7 separate regions of the Homo sapiens genome follow, and regions 1, 3, 4, 5, 6 and 7 are each linked to region 2. The links are contacts of gene promoters, found by promoter capture Hi-C in blood cells and fetal thymus (Javierre and others, 2016). All regions are on one chromosome and are shown on one strand. Each heading gives the region's core, a stretch centred on a gene start or on the middle of the fragment in contact. The rest is flanking DNA. Distances are from core to core; before and after follow the strand shown. Region 1 overlaps FLVCR2 (FLVCR choline and putative heme transporter 2). Region 2 holds the start of FOS (Fos proto-oncogene, AP-1 transcription factor subunit). Region 3 overlaps DLST (dihydrolipoamide S-succinyltransferase). Region 4 holds the start of LOC124903348 (a long non-coding RNA gene). Region 5 overlaps DLST (dihydrolipoamide S-succinyltransferase). Region 6 overlaps TTLL5 (tubulin tyrosine ligase like 5). Region 7 overlaps YLPM1 (YLP motif containing 1).

Region 1 (3,458 bases), core at 893-3,392, 370 kb after region 2:
CTCAGGGAACACGAACACCCCACCTTTTCCTTCAGCACAGCTCTCACCGCCAGCACAAAGGGCTTCGCTAGAGATGTTTTTGGAGGGAATCAGTGGGACTATTTGTGGCATGGATGGCCTATTCCTCCTAGAACCCACGTAAGAGCTTGGATGATTTAGTTGGAGAAAATTGCACCTATCACCAAATGCAAATTTGATTCCCACCTCCACCCCCTTTTAGGTTATGGGAGTTGGTGTTGGGACAGGGTGGCAGAGAATATTGGAGTCAATCCTAGCTTGGTCTCTTGCCTTCCCTCTTTTCCTCCATCCATCGTGGACAATGCCTGCAAAATTTTCACAGGAAGAAAGCCTATTCAGGATATTAACTTGAAATTTCCAGTGTCCTAAGAGCCTCTCATGAAGCCCAGTTCTAATAAGTGGCAAGCTGCTCTGCCGGGGTCATCTCCTGGGTCATCGGACTGATTGCTCAAGTTCTGCAGGAGAGGAAGCACCATTAGAACAACTCCATCAGAACAGCTCCACCGGGACTTGTGGGCCTAAATTTTCCTGGCCTAACGGGTCTGTCTCCAAACCCTCTTTCCTAAGAGCTGAGCAAACCAACCATAATAAACTTGACAAAAGACTTTGTTGTGGCCATGACAGAGATACCGACTCAGGAGGGCTACCTACCTAGGTGTGATCATGCTGGGGGCTACCTTCTGAGTATATTTGTGAAAGCACATATTTGGGAACTCTGGTAGCTTGAGTTGGGAATGGGAAGGTTCTTTTTTACAGAAGTACTTCCCCAGGGACTTCTGTGTGTCACAGTCACCTCTGATGCCTTTATCTTGATGTTGCATTGGGAATCTCAGCCATCAGCCCAAGTGCTTGTTTTATTCCAAGGCAGGGTAATCCCCGTCAACTTACTCTAACCTTTGCTGAAAACTAATCTTGATTCATTCTACTCTGAAAATCCAAAGGTGCTTCTGAGAGATAAGAGGGAAGGGGTAGAAGGAAAGGTGCCCCTTGAAATGGGAATTGAGCCTGTTAGAATTAAAAGCTTATCTCACCTCTGCTGGGGACAGTATTTGCACCACCAACCCCTCTCCTCACCTGCTTTGAGCGATAATCTTTATCAGATATTCTAAACTTAAAGGGATTCCCTTTAAACCAACTCAAGCTGATCTTTCCTATCTAGCCTGCTGTTTGGCTGTACTCATGGGCTTTGGTAATATCTCCTAAAAATGAGGTTTTGGTAATTTTTCCTATGCATTGGGCAACTGTGATCGTGACCACTGTGCTGTCTTGCTCCAGCCACTGCCCTGGCCTCAGCATATCAGGGCAGCCTGTGCTGGCTGCAATACTGTGGTGCTTGGGCCACTGCCTGAGAGGAGCCAGGTTTGTGTGTGTCTGCATGTGTGTGTGTGTGTGTTTGTACAGATTCAAGCAATGGATGCAAGGAACATGCTGTATGTAATAGAAGAAAGAAGTCCACGTTTTCGGCAGAAGTAGTGAGTCAGTGTGGAAGAGAGGTGAGGGTGTGCTTTACTTTTTGATAAAGAGAAAGATGTTTACTCATAAACCCTTCAAAAGGTATTAACAAAATGTTTACCAAACCTATTGCTTTATTTTAAAAACATAATTTGTGTTTTCTATTTGTAAGATCTGACATTTCGAGGCAATAAAAACTTCTCAGAAAGTGGTCTGCCTTATCATTCAGTGGGGCAGAGATGGCTCTTAGAAGTCCCTGCAAGACTGTCACACATTCCTGAGGCTCCTGTCTTAGGTGTGGGGAAGGGCTGGGCTGGGGCGGGGGAGTGTGAGGCTAGAGAAGCAGCAACTGTGGTCTTCCACAGGAGCATCTCACTGTTGCCAGACCTTACCATCTGGGAGGGATATTTTTTAAAGACAAGGCTGTAAAGGTTACTGTTTGCCTACATGGAGGGACTGCAACTCAACATCCAGCACGACCCTGACCTCTTTCCATGCTGTGTACGCGCTGGAATGTGAGTGACTGCTGATGAGAGAGTCCACTGTTGTTTCTGGCTCTGCCTCAAAGGGTGGTTGAAATGTTTGTTCTCTGATTACCTCAGCCATGCATCAGCTTGCTGTGGCTGGGGCCCATGGCTCAGTCCCAGCAGCTGCAGTCTTGCGTTACCATTTTTCTTCCTAACTGGCCAACGTCCTGTTACTCATCCCTCCCCAGTTGTGATCACCTTGTGCGTGTTACTTGAATATGCTGCTACTATCATCTGTGTTCTGTACATTCTTTCCATAGAGAGTTGTACTGTGCCTGTGGTATTCTAGCATCATATTTATAGCAACTCGTAGCTGGGGAGGAACAATATTATGATTCTATTTTAAATGATCTAGGAAGGGACCCAAGCCTGGGCTGTTAAGAAATCTAATATCCATAGTGTCTGCTAAATACTCTAACTGTACATCTCTTTAGATCCTTTGGGTCCCTGCCTTTACTAATCTGGAATCACTTTTTTTTTTTTTTTTTTTTTTGAGATGGTGTCTTTTTCTGTCGCCAGGCTGGAGTGCAATGGCGCAATCTCGGCTCACTGCAACCTCCGCCTTCCTGGTTCAAGCAATTCTCCTGTCTCAGCCTCCCAAGTAGCTGGGACTACAGGCACACGCCACCATGCCCAGCTAATTTTTGTACTTTTAGTAGAGACGGGGTTTCACCATGTTGGCCAGGATGGTCTCGATCTTTTGACCTCATGATCTGCCCGTGTCAGCCTCCCAAAAGTGCTGGGATTACAGGCGTGAGCCACCACACCCGGCCAGGGCATCACATTTTCATGACACATGCTCAGAGGACCTAAATCATCCAATGTTTTCATTCACTCCTTTCATAAGGTCTTCATGTGGATCTGTGTTCAAACATTAACTGTCATCACTGCTTTTTTACTGCCTCCTAACAATATAGCTGACAAGTAAAGAAAAGATAGTTCTTACCATTGAGATATTTTTCTAGATACAGTGTTCTGGGCATATGAGGCCTGGAATTTCTGCAACCAACTTTGGTACCATAAAAGAAGTCAGCCTGAGGATGCCAGCACACATAGGTAGTGCTGAAAGAATCGTAAAGAAATGGAGCTGGAGTCTTGATCAAACCCTTCCTGAAGCTAATCTTGTAATTTTTCAGTTATATGAGCCAGCTATCTTTATTGTTTAAGCTAGTTTAAGGTAGGTTTTGTCCTTTCACCTAAAGAGACTTAACTGATAAGAGAATTCCCAATGTATTTAAGTGTAAACATCAAGCTTCTTATCACACCCTTATAAGCCCCTTGCCTCCTTTTCTGACCTTTTCTTTCACTTCCTAACTCTTCACCATGCTGTGATTACATAGTTCTTATTCCTTGAATAAGACTATTCTACCTTCCAGTTGCTGCTCCCTCCTTTCTAACGGCCTGCTCCATATCTTAAGACATTTAACTCCTGGGCATTCAAGTCTCAGCTCAAATCCCACC
Region 2 (3,223 bases), core at 153-2,652:
CGGGGCTGTGCGGGGACATGCGTCTTCGCGCCCTGGAGGTGGCCAGCGCGCTGGGGCTGAGCCCCGGCAGCGTGACCCCGGCTGTCCTACGCAGCAGGGCAGGAGATTGGGGGGCGTGGCACACTCTGGAGCACCTTGCCTCCCCAAAGCCCCGTGTTCCAGGACGTGGAGCCGCTCCTGGGGTCCCAGCAGTCGAGGTATTCCGCCCAGGCGCAGCTGGACACTGTCCTTCCAGCCCCCGTCCTCCACCCTCCAAGTCCGCGCTGGAAAATCACCCGCTGCGGGCTCCCGTAAGCACAGCTTCCTGGCGGGACCGAACCAGCCCTCAGCGCAGATTTGAGTTCCCCGCAGGAAGCACACCCCGCCTTGTCATCCCGAACTGACCACCCTGCCCACATAACCACACCTCGCACTCCCTACCCCTGGGGCCCAGCTCAGAACCGGGCAGACACCCCCTTCAAATGTCTTCGCACGTAGGTTTTGCACAGTGTTTATCTGCTGGTGTCTCAGGGATTTGACAGTTTCCTTAATATTCCCACACATGGCCGAGAAAAATAAATAAATAAATGCGCTGTCTTCTTTAAAAAAATAAATAAATAAAGTACCCAGTATCGTAAAGTAGGTTATCGTATTCTCTTATTTTGGATCCTCCACTTTCTGCTTCCAAACGCAGGAACAGTGCTAGTATTGCTCGAGCCCGAGGGCTGGAGGTTAGGGGATGAAGGTCTGCTTCCACGCTTTGCACTGAATTAGGGCTAGAATTGGGGATGGGGGTAGGGGCGCATTCCTTCGGGAGCCGAGGCTTAAGTCCTCGGGGTCCTGTACTCGATGCCGTTTCTCCTATCTCTGAGCCTCAGAACTGTCTTCAGTTTCCGTACAAGGGTAAAAAGGCGCTCTCTGCCCCATCCCCCCCGACCTCGGGAACAAGGGTCCGCATTGAACCAGGTGCGAATGTTCTCTCTCATTCTGCGCCGTTCCCGCCTCCCCTCCCCCAGCCGCGGCCCCCGCCTCCCCCCGCACTGCACCCTCGGTGTTGGCTGCAGCCCGCGAGCAGTTCCCGTCAATCCCTCCCCCCTTACACAGGATGTCCATATTAGGACATCTGCGTCAGCAGGTTTCCACGGCCTTTCCCTGTAGCCCTGGGGGGAGCCATCCCCGAAACCCCTCATCTTGGGGGGCCCACGAGACCTCTGAGACAGGAACTGCGAAATGCTCACGAGATTAGGACACGCGCCAAGGCGGGGGCAGGGAGCTGCGAGCGCTGGGGACGCAGCCGGGCGGCCGCAGAAGCGCCCAGGCCCGCGCGCCACCCCTCTGGCGCCACCGTGGTTGAGCCCGTGACGTTTACACTCATTCATAAAACGCTTGTTATAAAAGCAGTGGCTGCGGCGCCTCGTACTCCAACCGCATCTGCAGCGAGCATCTGAGAAGCCAAGACTGAGCCGGCGGCCGCGGCGCAGCGAACGAGCAGTGACCGTGCTCCTACCCAGCTCTGCTCCACAGCGCCCACCTGTCTCCGCCCCTCGGCCCCTCGCCCGGCTTTGCCTAACCGCCACGATGATGTTCTCGGGCTTCAACGCAGACTACGAGGCGTCATCCTCCCGCTGCAGCAGCGCGTCCCCGGCCGGGGATAGCCTCTCTTACTACCACTCACCCGCAGACTCCTTCTCCAGCATGGGCTCGCCTGTCAACGCGCAGGTAAGGCTGGCTTCCCGTCGCCGCGGGGCCGGGGGCTTGGGGTCGCGGAGGAGGAGACACCGGGCGGGACGCTCCAGTAGATGAGTAGGGGGCTCCCTTGTGCCTGGAGGGAGGCTGCCGTGGCCGGAGCGGTGCCGGCTCGGGGGCTCGGGACTTGCTCTGAGCGCACGCACGCTTGCCATAGTAAGAATTGGTTCCCCCTTCGGGAGGCAGGTTCGTTCTGAGCAACCTCTGGTCTGCACTCCAGGACGGATCTCTGACATTAGCTGGAGCAGACGTGTCCCAAGCACAAACTCGCTAACTAGAGCCTGGCTTCTCCGGGGAGGTGGCAGAAAGCGGCAATCCCCCCTCCCCCGGCAGCCTGGAGCACGGAGGAGGGATGAGGGAGGAGGGTGCAGCGGGCGGGTGTGTAAGGCAGTTTCATTGATAAAAAGCGAGTTCATTCTGGAGACTCCGGAGCGGCGCCTGCGTCAGCGCAGACGTCAGGGATATTTATAACAAACCCCCTTTCAAGCAAGTGATGCTGAAGGGATAACGGGAACGCAGCGGCAGGATGGAAGAGACAGGCACTGCGCTGCGGAATGCCTGGGAGGAAAAGGGGGAGACCTTTCATCCAGGATGAGGGACATTTAAGATGAAATGTCCGTGGCAGGATCGTTTCTCTTCACTGCTGCATGCGGCACTGGGAACTCGCCCCACCTGTGTCCGGAACCTGCTCGCTCACGTCGGCTTTCCCCTTCTGTTTTGTTCTAGGACTTCTGCACGGACCTGGCCGTCTCCAGTGCCAACTTCATTCCCACGGTCACTGCCATCTCGACCAGTCCGGACCTGCAGTGGCTGGTGCAGCCCGCCCTCGTCTCCTCCGTGGCCCCATCGCAGACCAGAGCCCCTCACCCTTTCGGAGTCCCCGCCCCCTCCGCTGGGGCTTACTCCAGGGCTGGCGTTGTGAAGACCATGACAGGAGGCCGAGCGCAGAGCATTGGCAGGAGGGGCAAGGTGGAACAGGTGAGGAACTCTAGCGTACTCTTCCTGGGAATGTGGGGGCTGGGTGGGAAGCAGCCCCGGAGATGCAGGAGCCCAGTACAGAGGATGAAGCCACTGATGGGGCTGGCTGCACATCCGTAACTGGGAGCCCTGGCTCCAAGCCCATTCCATCCCAACTCAGACTCTGAGTCTCACCCTAAGAAGTACTCTCATAGTTTCTTCCCTAAGTTTCTTACCGCATGCTTTCAGACTGGGCTCTTCTTTGTTCTCTTGCTGAGGATCTTATTTTAAATGCAAGTCACACCTAGTCTGCAACTGCAGGTCAGAAATGGTTTCACAGTGGGGTGCCAGGAAGCAGGGAAGCTGCAGGAGCCAGTTCTACTGGGGTGGGTGAATGGAGGTGATGGCAGACACTTTTACTGAATGTCGGTCTTTTTTTGTGATTATTCTAGTTATCTCCAGAAGAAGAAGAGAAAAGGAGAATCCGAAGGGAAAGGAATAAGATGGCTGCAGCCAAATGCCGCAACCGGAGGAGGGAGCT
Region 3 (3,292 bases), core at 498-2,997, 390 kb before region 2:
GCCGGGCGTGGTGGCAGGCGCCTGTAGTCCCAGCTCCTCGGGAGGCTGAGGCACGAGAATGGCGTGAAGCCGGGAGGCGGAGCTTGCAGTGAGCCGAGTTCGCGCCACTGCACTCCAGCCTGGGCGACAGAGCGAGACTCCATCTCAAAAAAAAAAAAAAAAAAAAGTTATGGCTAGCAGAATGTGACGGAGCTAACCCAGTGAAGCCCAGGAGAAAGAGAATGGCATTCACAAAGACCCTGAGGAAGAAAAGAGGTTGGCAGAACTTAAGAGCTGGAAAAAAGGTGATTTGGCCGGAGTATTTTGGTTAAGGGAGAGAGTGGCAAGAGATAGAAGATGGTATAGAGACTGAAGGAGTTTAGATTTTATCCTAGCAGTTAAAAAGAAAAAAGTGTCATCCATAGCTTTTTTTCTGTTATATGCCTAGCCTAAGTATTTGTTGAATGAGTTGACCTTGTTGTGGGCTTTCTTTGTGCCAAGCATTTATATGAGTGCTTTCTGTGAATTTTTTAGTTAATCATCTCAAAACAGTAAAAAGTATTTTCTCTATTTTACAAATGCATAACCCAAGACAAGAGAGCTTAAAAGCCTTGGCCATGGTCACCCACCCAGCTGTTGATAAGCCAGGTCTACCTGACCCATCCTGAACTCTTAACCCACCATGTTCTCATTTACTCATGGACTCAACAGATCATTTATTGAGTGCTTACTATATGCCAGCCACTGTTCTAGGTAACAGGGGTATAGATAGACTCTAGCCTCGAGATTTTATGGGCTAGCTGGAGAGAGAGAGCAAATATACATTTATGCTCCGACAAGGGCATAAATTTTGGTTACTACGAGAGAGGAATTAAAGGGTGTGATGAGAGGGTGGGATGATGTAGACCAGCTTGGGAAGGTTGGGAATGTCAGTAAAGGCTTCCCTGAAGAAGTGACATTTAACTGAGACCTGAATATAAAAGAGCCAAGAAAATGTATTCCAGGCAAAGGGAATTGCTTGTGCAAAGGTTTTCAGACAGGAAAGGACTTGACCAGTGATAGACATGGGAAGAAGCCTGTCTGGCAGGAAAGATAGAGTGGGCTGGACGGTACAGGATCGCGTAAAGTGTGGACTTTATCCTGAGAGTTATGAGAACATAAAGCCCCTAGCACAATGTCGGCTTGTAGTGGACTCTCAATAACAAACATGTTTTTCAAGTGGGAACCCTGAACAATGTCAGTAAACATTTTCTCCACTTCATAGGTGGGCAGGACAATGGAAAGAGCCTTGCACTTGGGGATTTGCATTTGGGCTCAGGGATTCACCTTGGGCTAGTCGCTTAACCTCCAAAAGTCCTACTTATATGAAATGGGAATAATGGCAGATGGTCGTTCCACTTCAGAGAGTTGTGAGACTGTAAAATCAAAATGAGGTCATTATGGGAAAGCTTTTTATAAACCCTAAAGCACTGTACAAATGAAATTTGCTGTAGGATGAACTCTGAATTGGACTCCAGGTTCCCAAAATCAGTGTGAGCCGCCATCTATTCTAGTTCAAAAACATACTATGCTTAGAATTTGCACTGCATAGTCATTGGCTGCTGGACATAAAGGTGACTGGCTTACCTATCTTGGGATGCTTGTGAGGAGGTGGGCATAAGAGAGGGCTAGCTCTCATTTGGTGTGTCCTGAGCCCATGGTTCAGAAAGAGTTGTTAATCTGAAAGAAAAAAGACATAAGAAAGAATTCAGAAGAGGCAGCTGTAGTTACTAGTCATCAGTTGGGGAAATGCAGTTAACTATGATAAGGACAGCTGGTGGGCAGAAAGGGTCTCTCACCTTGTTGAGAGTGACCAGGGTGGAAGACTTCAGAAAGGCATGGGAAGTCAATAAACTGAAAGATGGGGACATGATTTTCTCAGCTCTAGGACAAACTGGAGACCCCGAGCCTAAAGTAGCCAAGTCTTTGCTACTAGGATTCAGGTGATAAGATTTCCAACCCAATCTTTTCAAACCCAGACCAAACATCCTCCTTGCTTCTCAAATTGGGTTATGTATAGTCACAGGATAAGCCATCCCATGTCTTTCTCAAGCTTCAGTTGTATTTGAAGACTTGGCGAGTAGAGACATTTTATTATGAAAACATACAGGAATAATGAAAAGTTCTGGCTTTTTAAGGTAGATGAGATTATATAATCACTTTGGGCTGTGCCATCAAATTTTTTCTCTTTCCTCCCCAGCCAAACACATACCCACTCGATCTCACATACCCATTTGCTCTCTGCCACTAAGGCTACTTTGGAAAAGTTTGAGAAGCAGGACTCTATGATAAAGATTATATCCGTTGCCGTTGATCCTGCTCTGTCTCAGGGTTGGGGGTGAGCAGACCTTTTCCATTCCCAGCATGTATCCTTTGTGAGATAAGAGTTGTTGGTTAAGAGTTATTTTGTTTCTTGCAGGGGTCTCCTTATGCCAGGGACCAGGTTACCCTAACAGCAGGAAGGTTGTGTAAGTATCACTGGGGAGTACAGATATGTGGCCACGGGTTATTTATTTAAAGACATAAAGTTCTAAATTTGACCATCTGATTTCTTCACTGGCCTCCAGACCTAGAAATTGAGGTGATTATGTTGAGTCCCTAGACTAACCTCAATGTTCACTTTTCCCATGTGATGTTCCTTGAGCATCAGCTCCGTGTCAGGTTTTGGACTGGGAGTGTGCCCACTCTCCACAGGTGTTTGGATTATAATGAAAGTTAAGTTGGAATCCTCTTTTTATGGGATATAGAAGGGTGCTCCTAGATATTCTGTTTGGATGTAAGTGCAGCTGAAAGGCTCGAGGTTACATTTATTGTGGAGATTGAGAGCATCCTCTCAGTAGCATAGTTACTCATTTTTAAAAACAGTAAAAGCATAAAACTGGTTGAGTCCTGGGACTGACTGACTAGTTTGGAGGGAATGCTGTTATTGCATAATGCAGAGTTTGGAGAAAGGCTACCCATGTGTGTTTCAGATTAACTTCTGCGTATGAATGTTGCTTAAATGCTGCTTTGCATTCCAAGTGTTTTTGTGGTGGTGCTAAGAGAATGCTCTCTAGTAACCTGTTCAGCAGCTGTCAGGCTGCTTACTCTACAGGGAGAATCCTCAAAGTGAAGAGGTCAGCGGATGAGCTTCTTACTTACTCTACATCACAATGAGGGTTTTTGTTGTTGTTGTTTTGAGACAGGATCTTGCTCTGCCACTTTGGCTGGAGTGCGGTAGCCTGATCTTGGCTCACTGCATCCTCAGCCTCCTGGGCTCAAGAGATCCTTTCAC
Region 4 (3,253 bases), core at 82-2,581, 420 kb before region 2:
GTATCAATAAACCACTCTTTGTGATCACAGTCAAGGGAGAAGTCAAGAAGAGGGAAGTGTAATCTGTGACCAGATATACCCGGCACCTGCAGAATCAGATGCCAGCCTAACAGCTGTCAGCTGTGCATGAGGCAACATGCATCTCTTGATTAGGAATGTGCGCCAGTGACACCTAGGCTCACCTTTCACTGACGCTTTACCTCTGAGGTGCCACCAGTGTGCCTTCATAGGGATCCCCGAGGGACTGAGCTTGAGTGTTGTTTATTGTTATTTCCAGAAAGGATTTGAGGTGACTTGCTATGGAAGGCCCACTGATACATTTTCAAGGGAAAATACAGATAAGAATCAAATCATGAAAAGCATAGAAATTGTTGAGAAAACCTAGGCCAAGACTAGGTGCCACAACTGAGCTCAGCATTCAGTCCTGAGCCTCCTGGCACTAAGGCAAAAAGGTCAGGAAGTTATGTAACTTGATAATGACAGGGTATTCAGTCTAAGATGGTGTAACACCTGGCAGCCCTCTCACTAAGCTTCAGAATGAAGACTGGCTGTTGACTCAGTTTGCTGCTTCCACCTGTTGCCCAAGTGAAGATGTTGAGGCTGTAATCTTTGTGGATGATACAGAGATTGGCCCAGGCTGCCCTGGCTCTCAGTAACTTAAGGAGACACAGAAGAGGGATCTTTCCTAAAACTCGAATCATATAGGGAAGACACTCATCAGATCTCATGGGAACCCAGTACATGGTCTTACCTCAAAGTCATTTCCCTTGTTGTAGTGCATATTGAGAGCTTGAAAAAGTTCTGAATTGCGGAGAACCACCAGCATTTTGGGATTTGTGACACCATCTGAAATTGCTTGCCGGGCAGATTTTTCCATTTGGATGTAATAAAACTCACGAAAGTTGCTGAACCACTTGATCATCTGGGAGGTAATGCAGCGGTTGAACTGTACAAACAAGAGGTCCATCCAGTCAGACATTTGCCACGAGGTGCTCAGAATTAGAACTGTCTGCTTCCAGCTCAGTATAGGGGTTCATATACGGCTTTAACCAGCATTAACAGGGGCTTCCTTTAAAAAAAGAAGCGAAGCCACCGCTATTTTCCAAGCCTATTTAGTTATACTCAGAAAAATCTAAATTAGCTACAGTGCCCATTAGAACATAACTTTTTTTTGATATGCTAGATTTATGGGGGTTGTTTTACCCATGAAAAGCTTTTTGTGGTGTTTGAGTGGGACTTAGGGGTCACGACCAGTGTGGTGCCAGATTTTGCTGCACCCAGGTGGACTGCATGGCAGGCCTGGGGCCTTCCACTTGGATAAAGGGCCAAGGGAAGGGCAAGATGTAGGTCAGGGAGCAGTTTATTAGCAACTTTGAATTGTGGAATGAATTGAAATCAAAATCAGAGGTTGCTTCAGGGATCAACCAACCAACTGAATATGAGGGAAAGAAAAGCTTGAATGATGTAGACCAAAAGTATTAACAGCCCCTAACCCAACACCCAAAGTAAAAGAGGCCCTCAGAAACCTTTTATGGGAACAGGGGAGGTCTGGTCCCAACAATTAGTTTGATTTTCCTTATTGTCACACTTCATCTGTATGTACTTTCACTCAGTTTTGAACTATAGCAATTTGAACATAAATTTGACAGTGTCTGACACTCTGTCTCTCTCTCCCTCTCTATATATATTTTTTGTTGTTTGTTTGTTTGTTTTTGTGTGTTTTTTTTTTTTTGAGATGTAGTCTCGCTTTGTCGCCCAGGCTGGAGTGCAGTGGCGTGATCTCTGTTCACTGCAACATCCACCTCCTGGGTTCAAGTGATTCTCCTGCCTCAGCCTCCGAGTAGCTGGGATTACAGGCGCACGCCACCACGCCAGCTAGTTTTTGTATTTTTAGTAGACATGGGGTTTTACCATGTTGGTCAGGCTGGTCTCGAACTCCTGACCTCAGGTCATCTGCCCACCTCGGCCTCCCAAAGTGCTGGGATTAGAGGCATGAGCCACTGTGCCTGGCCTATATTTTATTTTTCATAGTGTCCCCAGCCAAGGCAGAAAACTAGCCAAAAAGGCCACTAACTAGTGTTTCTGTTTCCCTCTACTTTTCCTGCCCATGTGTTTCTGTTTTGGGGATTATCTACAGCTCAGTAGCTTAAGAATTTAGACAGCCAGCCTTTCTAGCCTAAAGTTATTCACGGTTATTTGGGTAGAGTCTCAGCCCAGAACTGGACATTGCTTCCATCAGCAACACTAAGGGGAGCTTGAAGTGCACATATGATGACCTAGGACTTGCCTCACACCAGGCAAAACACACTGCCTCTTGGGAGTTCTGCAGAAGCTGCCATTTAGTTGAGTGACTTTACCTGAACATCAGGAAAATAAACCTTCAGGAGGTTGGAGCTGGGATATCGTGTGAAGAAAAACATTAGTTTGGCCTTCTTCAAGTGACCAGGGTTTAGACCCTCCTGGATTTATCTCAGTGTCAAGGAAAATGAACACTTTAAAATGCCAGTTTATCAATTAACTAGTGAATTCCTTGTTCCTGTGGTTTCTATTTGATTTCATTTTGTTTTTCTGATTGGAATTGTGTATTTGCTCCATTTTTCTGTCTCTGGAAACTCTGGTCAAATAAGCTGGATGACATATGTGCACAGTTAAGTCACAGAATGTAAAAATCATCTCGATGTGGAAAAGTTATGTAGCATAGATGATGTCAAATACAGGTTGGTGTATTTTGTGTGTGTGTGTGTGTGTGTGTGTGTGTGTGGTGTCTTAGATGTCAAATACAGGTTGGTGTATTGTGTGTGTGTGTGTGTGTGTGTGTGTGTGTGTGTGTGTGTGTGGTGTCCAAGTGGGATGGGAAGAGATGGCAATTCTATCCCAGATAAACCATTTCAAAACCCCAAGCAGAGATTTACTTCCCCTCTCTGCCTCAGTTTCCTCAGCTGTAAAACGAGAAGAGTAAACTAGGTGGTCCCCATTCTGGCTGTCACTCTTATCATTGCCTTCACAGTGTTGCCTTTATAACCAGCAAACATCTAAGCAGGCTGAATACCAGCTCATATTTTGCTCTTGCTCAAGAAGCTTGAATGGTTGGGTGGTACCCACTCTCCATTTGCCTGGCAGAACTATCCCTCATCTTTCAGGTCTCAGCTCAGAAGCTCCCACCTCTGTTAAACCCTTCCTTGCCAAATTAGGCCTTCCTTACCCTGGGCTATGAAGACTCTTTGTACAAACTGTTGCAGCGATGACCTTATTG
Region 5 (3,523 bases), core at 17-2,516, 380 kb before region 2:
TCCGCAAAATCAAGGCAGCGGTAGAGGATCCCAGAGTCCTCCTCCTGGATCTTTAGGAGGAACCCACACACCCTACAAGTTGATCATGCAGGAACTGAAAACCAGTCTTCTCCCTGTCCCCTCATGGGTCCCGGGTTAGCCTGGTGACAGGCAGACACATGCTGTTGGCCTCAAGCAAGGAAGCAGAGCACTGTGTAACCAGCAGTCACAGGTCTTTTCTTGGCGTTCCTGCCAGGCTCTCCCTCTCTGCACCTGTCTCATAGCCTCGAATATCTTAATTCCTTAGGCTTAAGAGAGAGAGCCTTAATGGATGCTCATTCATATTCCTGCCTTTCTTCCATCAGCTCTCTGCAAAGATGATTTTGCTTTTCCCTAGTGCTGGTATACTATAGAGAAACCCCTGGGGACCATGTGATTAAGTTCCTATCTTTTGAAAGTTTGTTCTGCAGAGACTTCTAGGAGGATGCTGTGCCTCCCAAGCTCAGAGCAGCCTCTGTCCTGGCTGTGCACATTCTCCCTTGATTCCACTTGTGTGGAGGGATTGAACACAGGCAAAGAGGTGCTGCTTTGCTTCTTCAATGGCACCTTCATTCTCCGTTGTCATTGACTTCAAGATGCCTCTTCTACCTCTTCCAGGAAGCACAGGCCAGGGGATCTGGGTGTGTGAGTGGGAGGAGAGGGCAGAGGTCCCCTGAGGTCATGCATTGTAATCATCATAGAAGGAGAGCCCAGGCCTGCCCTCACGCTCTCCATCATAGGCTGACACCAAGAAGACTCGTCTTGGCACAATCTCACACAGCTGGGGCTGTAGCAACCCTTTCCAACCCCTTTGCTGGTTGCTGGGCCTCATTCTAGCACCTTGTTCTTAGAGCAGATTCTAGCACATCATGGCAGTGGGACCAAGCGTGGTCCCGAGGAAGGGCCAGAGCCTGGTAGAGACTAGGGAAGGGAGGTCTCCTCTAGACTGACTCACATTGCCTTGAGCTTTTCAGTTAAGTTGCTGTAAGCACCTGGGCTGAGGAGGCAGTTTTTGTTCCTTCCTGCGTTATAGCGGGGCCTTGTCTCTTCCTCTGCAGGACACAGATCTGGAGGACGTGGACTGGGGTAGGAAACCACCCTGAGGGTGTTAGTACCTAGTGGTGAAACGGATGAGGTCATTTCTAAGGTGTGTTGCCCGTGGATCTGGGCACAATCATTGGAATTCCTTGGAGCCACTGGGATTCATGGCTTTGTATCCAACTGCATCCAGGCCTGAGGCTGCTGACGTTTGACACCAGGGCCAGTAGAGAGTGCCCTTTTGTATCTTAAGCCAAGAAGTGAGGCCTGGGGGTGGGGGAGGGGGGAAGGGGTGGGAGCCAATACTGAGTGCCTGCAGCATCTACTACTCTGTCTTCACTATTCAGAACTTGTAACTAAAGTATTTAAAGAAACTGATTTTAAATGCAAATTAAAGGGCAGATATTCTCAAACAGGGTTCCTGTATCTGTTCCTTTTGGCTACTGAGGTGGTACAAGTCCCCAGCACTGTTGCACTGAAATTATTGAAAGCCACTCAAGGTCCTGTTGCTTATTTTGTGAAATCAGAAATCCCTTATGTGGAACTTAACACTCATAATTTGACAGAAGGTAGAACCCTGACTGCCAGCCGGGAAAGTGTTGCCAAAAAGAGTCAACCTCTGTAAAAATATTTGAAGAGATTTATTCTGAGCCAAGTGTGAGTGACTGATGGCCTGTGATACAACTCTTAGGAGATCCTGAGAACATGTGTCCAGGGTCGTCTGGCTACAACTTAGTTTTATACATTTAATACATTTTAGGGAGACATAAGATACCAGTCAGTACATGTAAGATGTACAGTGGTTTGGTCTGGAGAGGCAGGACAGCTCAAGACCTGGGGATGTTGTCATAGGCAGAATCAAAGATTTTCTGATTGGCAATTGGTTGAAAGAGTTATTATCTAAAGACCTGGAATCAATAGAAAGGAATGTCTGGGTTACAGTAAGGGGTTGTGGAGACCAAGGTTTTATGCAGATGAAGCCTCCAGCCAGCAGGCTTCAGAGAAAATAGATTGTAAATGCTTCTCATCAGACTTAAGGAGCCTGTTTTAACAGTAATTCCAAAAGGGAGGGGAGTATAATGAGGAATGGCTGGCTCCCTCTTCCCACCATGGCCCGAACTAGCGTTTCAGGTTAACTTTGGAATACCCTTGACTGAGACGAGGGGTCCATACAGATGGTTGGGGGGCTTAGGATGTTTTTTGTTTTGTTTCCATAAAGCATCATAGTCTCTTAGTGCCCCACCTTCCTTGAGCCTGTCAAGCCATACTCTAGAATAGAGAATTTGGGGTCACCATCTTTGTGAAGCCCTTTCAAAACACCAGTAGACTTGCATTTTTTGTGTGGGCTTACATTATTTCAGTGATGGATTTGGGAGGAGTGGGGGCATCTCATTTCATTTGGATTTGATAGCCTTGTGGACCAAGATGCTCAAGGTCAATACACATGAACAGGTGAGGGTTGATGACCTAGGAGCAGTGGTCAGTGAGCGTGAGTGTACAGGGTGGGTAGCTAACCTAGACTGCAGGTGGCAGGTGTGATGGAGTCCAGGCTTAAACACAGCCTTGTCTTTTCCAGAGTCCCTGTCTGCTGAGCTCTTGCAGTGAGGCCATCCCTCTGTGAAGGTCTGTCACAGGAGGGAAGTGGGTCCCAGAGAGTAGAACTAGAGCTCTAGTAGATAGAAAAACAAATTAGGTTGAATGAAAGGAAGAACAGGATTTGGTGTTAGAAGCTTTAATTTATCTATCTGGTAAACCTGCAAAATAGGCATTATTTACCCCATTTTATCGAAAGGAGGTCGACTGTAAGAGCTGGGACCCACAGTATTCTAAACTCAGGGCCCAACAAAGTGTCAGATGTGTAGCTTTGGGTGGATGAAGCACAGAAGTTCCAGAAGGGACTTGTGCTTCATGAAGCGGTGGTTGGAAGTGGTCCAGCCTGACTTAGGGAGAGTAGCAGAAGGAACACTAACTTGCAACTCTGGCTAGGTTGTGTCCTTAACCTTTTTGAGCTTCAGTTTTCTCAGGAGCTACCGTCTGTTGCAAGGGGTCACTGTGAGGATGAAACTGGTATTCCCCCAGGCACCATGAGCCTCTTCCAAGGCTTCTTCATCCTCTTCCCCACAGAACCTGGTCCTCCCCGACCCCACCCCTTCCCCTGAGGCCCACATGGCATGCTGCTCACCACCAGCCCTGCGTCCTACTTCCTGGCAGCCCCAAGCTCGCTCTTGACTTCACTCTGGAGCTTCTACAGGGGAGCCTTCCAACCTGCCCCAATGAGCCGTGGTCATTGCATGGAAGAAGCGAGAACACCGTAGGCCAGAGCAGGCTTTATTGGGGCCGTGTAAACCCCAGGGAGAGGCAGGACGTGGACCACAGAGAGTCATGTACAGGCTGCGCTTTCACTTGTCTTCTCTGTCTCAGTCTCCTGAAGAGCCCGAGGAAGTCAAGTCTCCCCACCATGAGTGAG
Region 6 (3,390 bases), core at 161-2,660, 390 kb after region 2:
ATCTCAGCTACTCGGGAGGCTGAGACAGGAGAATGGCTTGAACCTGGGAGGTGGAGGTTGCAGTGAGCTGAGATCTCACCATTGCACTCCAGCCCGGGCAACAAGAGCAAACCTCCATCTCAAAAAAAAAAAAAAGAATGATAATGATAAATATAGCTACTACAGATGACGATAAAGGCTTTATCTCATCTATATCTTATATCTTTTTAAATCTGAAGGTGTTATTATTTTCACTTTTTTAAACTCAGTCTTATCAGGAAATTTCCTCAGTGACCCATAGAGAGTAAGTGATGCATTGAGATTTGGACTTAGCTTTTCTGGATTTTGATCACTTTGCTCTTTTGCCTCCTTTAATTATTGCTTGACACAGAGTAAAGAGAGAATCTGGTTTAAAGGTAAAATTCATTTTTAAGATTCTCCCTGAGTCCTTTTGGATATGTGTGTGCTATGTAACCTGAAAAATAGAGATAATATCTCCCAGGCTATTTTGTAGGGGTCTGGTTAGACTCAAATAGCATAATGTATGTGAAATTACTTTGTAAGTGCTATACAAATGTAAGGCATTATTTTTACTGGTTTTAATATTGAATTTATGGTGGGCTTCTTGTAAGATACAAGATTACTTGTAATTTGAAAAAAATTGTTGAAGCATTAAGAAAGCTTTGAGGAAACGTTTCTTATCACTGTTAGGTCATAGAAACTAATAGAGATTTGAAAGTATATTTGGGTCATTCTTGTTCAGGATAATTAAATGGATAATTCCCTCTGGTTACTTTCCCTTCTTCTGACTTTTTGCTTTCGGTGTGCTGCCTCTTACCCATTTCATAAAACTTTTAACTTCTGCTGCAAGTATCAGTCTTTCCCTTTTTAAAGGTTGTTCTTTTACTCCATTACTGTCTCTCTTATTAGTGGGTTTACAGATTGGGCCTGACAAATGTTAGATTGAACTATATGAAACTGCCATTTTGGTAGGTCAGAAACAGTCAAATACTGACGATTGCAGATAGTTTGACCTAATATTATAGTAGGTACTTAGTAAATTCTTGCTGACTGAATAACGAAATGAAGGAATAAATGAAGGCTTTATACTTTACATTACCTTAGATCAGAGTTGTTAACTTTTTTATGCCATGGATTCCTTACCAGAATAATGTTTTTAAGGCTTAAAATAAAATACATATTATTACAAAGAGTACTAATTACATTCAAATGCAGTTATTAAAACACATTTGTAACATAGTAATATGTGCTGTTTTACTAATACATTAAATAATAAGATCATTTCAAATCTGGGAAAGTTAAATTTTGTTTTCTAAAGACAACAACATGAAGACTGTTTTTGTTTAGTTTGTGTAAGATCAGTACACTGGGAGGGTGGCCTTTGATTAACAATCATAGGTCGGGGGTACTGGGAAGCAGCATAGATGTCTGGGTCACCAGTGTGAGGTGTCATCATTTAGTGACTGAATGATTATTAGGAGGAGAGTTGCCCAATTGTTGTCCAACCTCATCACACTAGCATTTAGATAGAAAGACCATGATCACATGTGATCTAGGGGTGAGTCTTAAACTACTATAACTTAGAAGTAGTGACAAATGTAATACCTGTAATTGGCCAGGTGCAGTGGCTCACGCCTGTAATCCCAGCACTTTGGGAGGCCGAGGTGGGCAGATCACTTGCAGTCAGGAGTTTGAGACCAGCCTGGCCAATATGGTGAAACCCTGTCTCTACTAAAATACAAAAATTAGCCGGGTGTGGTTGTGGGTAATCCCAGCTACTCGGGAGGCTGAGGCAGGTGAATCGCTTGAACCTGGAAGGCAGAGGTTGCAGTGAGCCGAGATTGTGCCACTGTGCTCCAGCCTGGGAGACAGAGTGAGACTCCGTCTCAAACAAAACAAAACAAAAAAACTGCTGTAATTTTAGATAACGTCAAAGGCACAGATAATGCTAATATTACTATGGTTCGTTGCCTATATTCATAATTAAGAAATACTGAATTTCTAGTAAAAGTTAGTGAAAATAAAGGTGTAATTTTCCCTCTGCTCCCATCCAAATTTATGGACCACTTCCTCCTTTTAGACTCCTACTGTTGATTTTTAACTGTTAATCTTGTTTCATCAGCTTATGTCTTGTCTATCAGACACTTATTTTTTACATTAGGAAGCTTAAATCAATCTTGTTCACACCTGAAGCAGCAGGCTTACATTTTAAAAGTTGATTTAGAAGTTTGAAGGCCATAAATCATCGGAAGATGTTGACTTGATCCAAAGATGTATATCCATGGACATCTGTTAGATCTGCTCAGATCCCTAGGCTGTGTTAAAGTATTAATTCCTTGCAATCGTGGACTTCAGGAATAGAAACTATCCAGGCAGTCTTGTTTTGCATGGTATTATTTCAAATAGAAAATGTAAAGAGGCTGTTTTTCTATATTTTGCTTGGGGATCCCAAATACAACTCTGTATGTAGATATAGAAGCTTTCGTAGAAGAACGTGATGTAAGATTTCTTTGGTCACTGAAAAAATGTCAACTTTAATTGCTATTGTAAAAGGCTGGCTTTATATCAGTTAAAAAGATTATTAACAATCAATTATAAAGTGGGTGCTATAGGAGTTCAGAGAAGGAAGTATCGTAATGGGCTGAAGGAGCTGGGGAAGGCTGCCTGAAGGTGGTGAGACTTTAGGTAGGCCTTGGAGAGTGGGCTTAGATAAACAGAAGTGGGGAAGGCATTTCTAATAGGGGTAGTGGTATGAAGACAGCCTAGAAGCAAGAATGCAAAAGCTGCTTACAGCTCCATCTTTGAGTTATGTAGGCTGGGTCCCAGGAGTGAATGATGTCTATTTCTCATGAAATTATTCCCGGAAAACCAAAATGTTTTTAGGCTTTCAATAAAGTGAATCATAAAACTGATCTGCTTCGGTAATTATTCAAATCCTTTGTTTTTCATGCCTATAAAAGTGGATTTTAATATGTACCAGTTTCTGATGTGAATGAGAATATAAAGTCCCAATTTTCAGTTTCCTAATCATTCTGAATTTTTTCCTTTTAGCATCACTTGGTGGGAATATGTTTTTCATGACAACTTCGCATATTCCTTAAGTGCTTTTTTTTTTTAGCTGACCTTACTGTTTACTCTCTCTTTTATCTTTCCATGGGTTGGAAATGAAAAGATTTCTCTGTTAGAGACTTGGCTTTCTACAGATAGTACAGTTAGGGCCTGGGCTCTTCTCAGCTGTGTATCTGTTGATTGTGCTCCCCTTGTCAGGCATTTTAAAATTGGAGCAGCAATCCATTGTTTATAAATGCTAAGGCATAGTGGTGCCAGCTGGTAGCTAGTGCTAGATTGACAGAGAACTTTGGATAGTTTCCAGAGTTCCTGTCTGAGACT
Region 7 (3,235 bases), core at 215-2,714, 440 kb before region 2:
TTGAGACAGAGTCTCACTCTGTTGCCCAGCCTGGAGTGCAGTGGTGATTTTGGCTCACTGCAACCTCTGCCTCCCAGGTTCAAGCCATTCTCATGCCTCAGCCTCCTGAGTAGCTGGGATTACAGGCACCCACCACCACGTCCGGCTAATTTTGTTTGTATTTTTAGTAGAGACGGGGTTTCGCCATGTTGGCCAGGCTGGTCTCAAACTCCTGACCTCAGGTGATCTGTCTGCTGCAGCCTCCCAAAGTGCTGGGATTACAGGCGTGAGCCACTGTGCCTGGCCTAATTCCAATGTTAAAATCTTGAACATTTATTCGCAAACATACTACTCATTTCAAAAACACCTACACATTTTTTCTTCTAATCCTATATTCTTTATTTTATCTGAGTTTAAAACTTAGAATTTAAACTGTAGATTTAAAAGTAGCAAGGTGAGATTGATCAGTATATTTAACTATGTGCTGAGGTTGATAAGTATATTTAACTATGTGCTGAGGATGCCGTGGGAATGGATTTAAATTTGCTGTGGGCTGTTTACTTTTTCTTTATTCAATGAGCCTTACCATATAAGGGGCAAACTGTGGCCACTGAACAAAGAAAAAGTAACCAGCCCACAGCAAATTTAAATCCATTCCCACGGCATCCTGAGCACAGTATTGTGTTTTCACATAAATGCCCAAGACTTAGTTCGTAATGATCTTTCGCTAAAATGTGTATCCTTGATCCAGGTGGAGCTGAGAGAATATACATGAATTAAATTTAATTAATTAATTATTATTGAGGTAGGGTCTCTCTGTCACCCAGGCTGGAGTACAGTGGTGTGATCTTGGCTCACTGCCACTTCTGCCTCCCAGGCTCAAACAATTCTCCCACCTCATCCTCCCTAGTAGCTAGGATTTCAGGCACCCACCACACACCATGCCCAGCTAATTTTTGTATTTTTAGTAGAGACACGGTTTCGCCTTGTTGCCCAGGCTGGTCTTGAACACCTAGGCTGACGTGATCTGCCGGCCTCGGCCTCCCAAAGTGCTGGAGTTATAGGTGTAAGCCACTGTGCCTGGCTGTATATATGAATTAATCAAAATAGGTACTTCAGCATTGATGAGCAGAATGCCCAAAGATTTTTCTATATTGAAGCCCACATTATTTATTAGGCTTCTTACTAAAGCCCATGAAAGACATTGAGCCATAGGTTTTCTATACACTAAAAACCTACTTTCTGGAAAGTCAGATGTTACCAGTTTCTTCCCACTGCTATTACTTTGGCTCCTCCCTTTGACCAGGTGATACTGTTAAAAGCCTAGTTATTTCATTGCTAGTCATGCAAATGGTAATTAGTGTACATTAGAGCAATAATGCATTCCCAGGTTCAGTGTAAAGAGCATGGTGTTTCCATGCTCTGGTTCTCTCTCCTTGTCACAGATAATAAATCACAAGCCATGTTTAAAATACATTCTCTGCAGTCTTTGATACTGTGTAGTGCAAGCAACAGATTCATAGTTTCTTTTTAAGAATCTGAACTTTTACAGAATATGTATATCTCCATATACTTTTAAAAACATATTAACATAATATGTGGCTGGGCATGGTGGCTCATGCTTGTAATCCTAGCACTTTGGGCGGCCAAGGCAGGAGGATTGCTTGAGTCCAGCAGTTTGAGACCAGCCTGGGCAACATAGTGAGACTCTGACTCTAAAAAAAAAAAAAAAAATTACAAAAATTTTTAAAAAGCATAATATGTAAGAATATATATATATTAAAAATCAGAATACCAATAGGAAATATCCCTGATCCATATATTTGTAGTTGTAATCTTGCCATGAATTATATCAGTTGAGTCTGTTTCTTGGTCTCTTTATCTCATGAATGAAAGTAATAATACCAGCTTACTGTTTTCTCTAAGATTAAATTTCAAGAAATATTTTTGTGTAGAGATAAATAAAATTCAGTTATTGATCTAGGGTGTTGATAGTCTGTTAGGGAAGACAGATCTGTAAGTGGATAATTATACTACGGTGTGGAAGTTCAAAAGCAGACATATCAAAATCCGGAAGTTAACTGTGGAAAGCAGTGATTATTTGATTGGCAAAGGAAAAAGGGGTAAGTCAGGGAAGGATGACTAGACTCATGCCAAGTGGATAAGGTTAGGGAAAAGACATTTCAGGAAGAATGACTAGTACATATATGCAGAGTTATAGAGACATGAAATGGTGCGATGCGCTCTGAGTGCTAGAAGGAAGTCTGTATTGTTTGTATAAAATGCCATAGGCACTGGCCAGAGATGTTGCAGGAAAGTGTAGTTGGGGCCAGATCAAGAGGGACCTGAGTTCTTGGACTTTGCCTGGTAGGTAGGGGAAGGAGTTAAAGCAAATGAATCACAACTGTGTGTTTTAGGAAGATCACTCTGGCAGCATGAATCTGGAGCGGGTGAGTACAGACAGGAAGACTAGGTAGAGATTAGTGCTTTGCTTTCAGGTGAAAAAAAAATGAGGTCAGTGAATTATTAAATAAAAAGGAATGGCAGAGGAGAAAGAGAGGACAGGATTGAGCTGAACTGTTCAGGAGCTGGAATGGTTAGGACTTGGATTGTCCAGAGAGTTTTCTCTTTGTGACTTAAAATATATGGCTTTTCCCAGTTTTCCTGGGTTAGTTTTTAATTTTTTAAACTTGCGGTTTCAAATGAGTCATTCTACCCCTTAGACTGTCCAGAGAGGGAGGGGGCTCTTTGCATATTTATTTTTCCTAAAGCTCAGCCTAATGCTATGTTCTTTTTAGGTCAGATGGGCAGACCTGGAAGAGAAGAAGGATGCAGATAGGAAAAGGGCCATAGGTTTTGTGGTCGGACAGACTGATTGGGAGAAGATCACAGATGAAAGTGGTCACCTGGCTGAAAAAGCCCTCAATCGAACCAAATATATATGAGACTTAGTTTTTGAACGGAGTCATTATTCCTCTAAGGTAAGAGTACACAGTCATATAAATAGCCTACTGTGTGGTTGCTTCAAAGGGTTTGAGATAAAGAAGACAGCATATTTTGCTAAAAATGCTCTCTTCTTGTGTTATTTTATAGTTCTGAAAGAGTAAGTATGTACTAGTTGTTAACATTTACAATACTATTAGAAAAGGAAGCCATTTTCTGCAAGCTGGCTCACTTATAAAAATAAAAACCTTGAGAAAAACTTGAATTCTATAGATTTGGGAAGGACTGAAATGATGTTATACTAAGGGCTACT

The links. The method cuts DNA at HindIII sites, captures the fragments that hold promoters and counts their contacts. A CHiCAGO score of 5 or more calls a contact.
Region 1: a contact is called between a fragment that was not itself captured here and the fragment with the promoter of FOS in region 2, in 1 of 17 cell types (activated CD4 T cells). The highest score is 11.0, in activated CD4 T cells.
Region 3: a contact is called between a fragment that was not itself captured here and the fragment with the promoter of FOS in region 2, in 1 of 17 cell types (erythroblasts). The highest score is 5.0, in erythroblasts.
Region 4: a fragment that was not itself captured here is called in contact with the fragment with the promoter of FOS in region 2 in 1 of 17 cell types (naive B cells); the score reaches 5.4 in naive B cells.
Region 5: a fragment that was not itself captured here is called in contact with the fragment with the promoter of FOS in region 2 in 1 of 17 cell types (erythroblasts); the score reaches 6.4 in erythroblasts.
Region 6: a fragment that was not itself captured here is called in contact with the fragment with the promoter of FOS in region 2 in 1 of 17 cell types (activated CD4 T cells); the score reaches 6.9 in activated CD4 T cells.
Region 7: a fragment that was not itself captured here is called in contact with the fragment with the promoter of FOS in region 2 in 1 of 17 cell types (naive B cells); the score reaches 5.1 in naive B cells.

Annotation. Positions count from the first base shown.
Region 1 is chr14:75,646,490-75,649,947 of GRCh38, forward strand. FLVCR2 (FLVCR choline and putative heme transporter 2) reads left to right here. Exons shown (of 10, transcript NM_017791.3): 10 at 1-1,678. ERG28 (ergosterol biosynthesis 28 homolog) reads right to left here. Exons shown (of 5, transcript NM_007176.4): 5 at 3,302-3,458. Among named protein-coding and RNA genes, the nearest start is that of ERG28, 13 kb to the right of the region's middle. RefSeq lists an enhancer at 1,857-2,151. The HindIII fragment of the contact is 2,210 bases long and covers 1,038-3,247 here.
Region 2 is chr14:75,277,426-75,280,648 of GRCh38, forward strand. FOS (Fos proto-oncogene, AP-1 transcription factor subunit) reads left to right here and starts at 1,403. Exons shown (of 4, transcript NM_005252.4): 1 at 1,403-1,698; 2 at 2,452-2,703; 3 at 3,135-3,223. The coding sequence starts at 1,558. RefSeq lists silencers at 1-76, 805-894, 1,245-1,304 and enhancers at 1,393-2,320, 1,675-1,734, 2,321-3,223. The HindIII fragment of the contact is 6,704 bases long and covers 1-3,223 here.
Region 3 is chr14:74,883,149-74,886,440 of GRCh38, forward strand. It overlaps DLST (dihydrolipoamide S-succinyltransferase), which reads left to right. Exons shown (of 15, transcript NM_001933.5): 3 at 2,438-2,486. Among named protein-coding and RNA genes, the nearest start is that of DLST, 2.9 kb to the left of the region's middle. The HindIII fragment of the contact is 644 bases long and covers 1,426-2,069 here.
Region 4 is chr14:74,856,050-74,859,302 of GRCh38, forward strand. PROX2 (prospero homeobox 2) reads right to left here. Exons shown (of 6, transcript NM_001243007.2): 4 at 2,358-2,465; 5 at 752-946. LOC124903348 (a long non-coding RNA gene) reads left to right here and starts at 2,457. Exons shown (of 2, transcript XR_007064269.1): 1 at 2,457-2,717; 2 at 2,784-3,253. The HindIII fragment of the contact is 241 bases long and covers 1,212-1,452 here.
Region 5 is chr14:74,902,275-74,905,797 of GRCh38, forward strand. DLST (dihydrolipoamide S-succinyltransferase) reads left to right here. Exons shown (of 15, transcript NM_001933.5): 15 at 1-1,469. The coding sequence ends at 56. RPS6KL1 (ribosomal protein S6 kinase like 1) reads right to left here. Exons shown (of 12, transcript NM_031464.5): 12 at 1,677-3,523. Among named protein-coding and RNA genes, the nearest start is that of RPS6KL1, 19 kb to the right of the region's middle. The HindIII fragment of the contact is 3,036 bases long and covers 1-2,784 here.
Region 6 is chr14:75,663,964-75,667,353 of GRCh38, forward strand. The region is part of intron 2 of TTLL5 (tubulin tyrosine ligase like 5); the gene reads left to right. Among named protein-coding and RNA genes, the nearest start is that of TTLL5, 4.4 kb to the left of the region's middle. The HindIII fragment of the contact is 1,505 bases long and covers 659-2,163 here.
Region 7 is chr14:74,832,488-74,835,722 of GRCh38, forward strand. It overlaps YLPM1 (YLP motif containing 1), which reads left to right. Exons shown (of 21, transcript NM_019589.3): 20 at 2,778-2,960. The coding sequence ends at 2,924. Among named protein-coding and RNA genes, the nearest start is that of PROX2, 42 kb to the right of the region's middle. The HindIII fragment of the contact is 5,354 bases long and covers 1-3,235 here.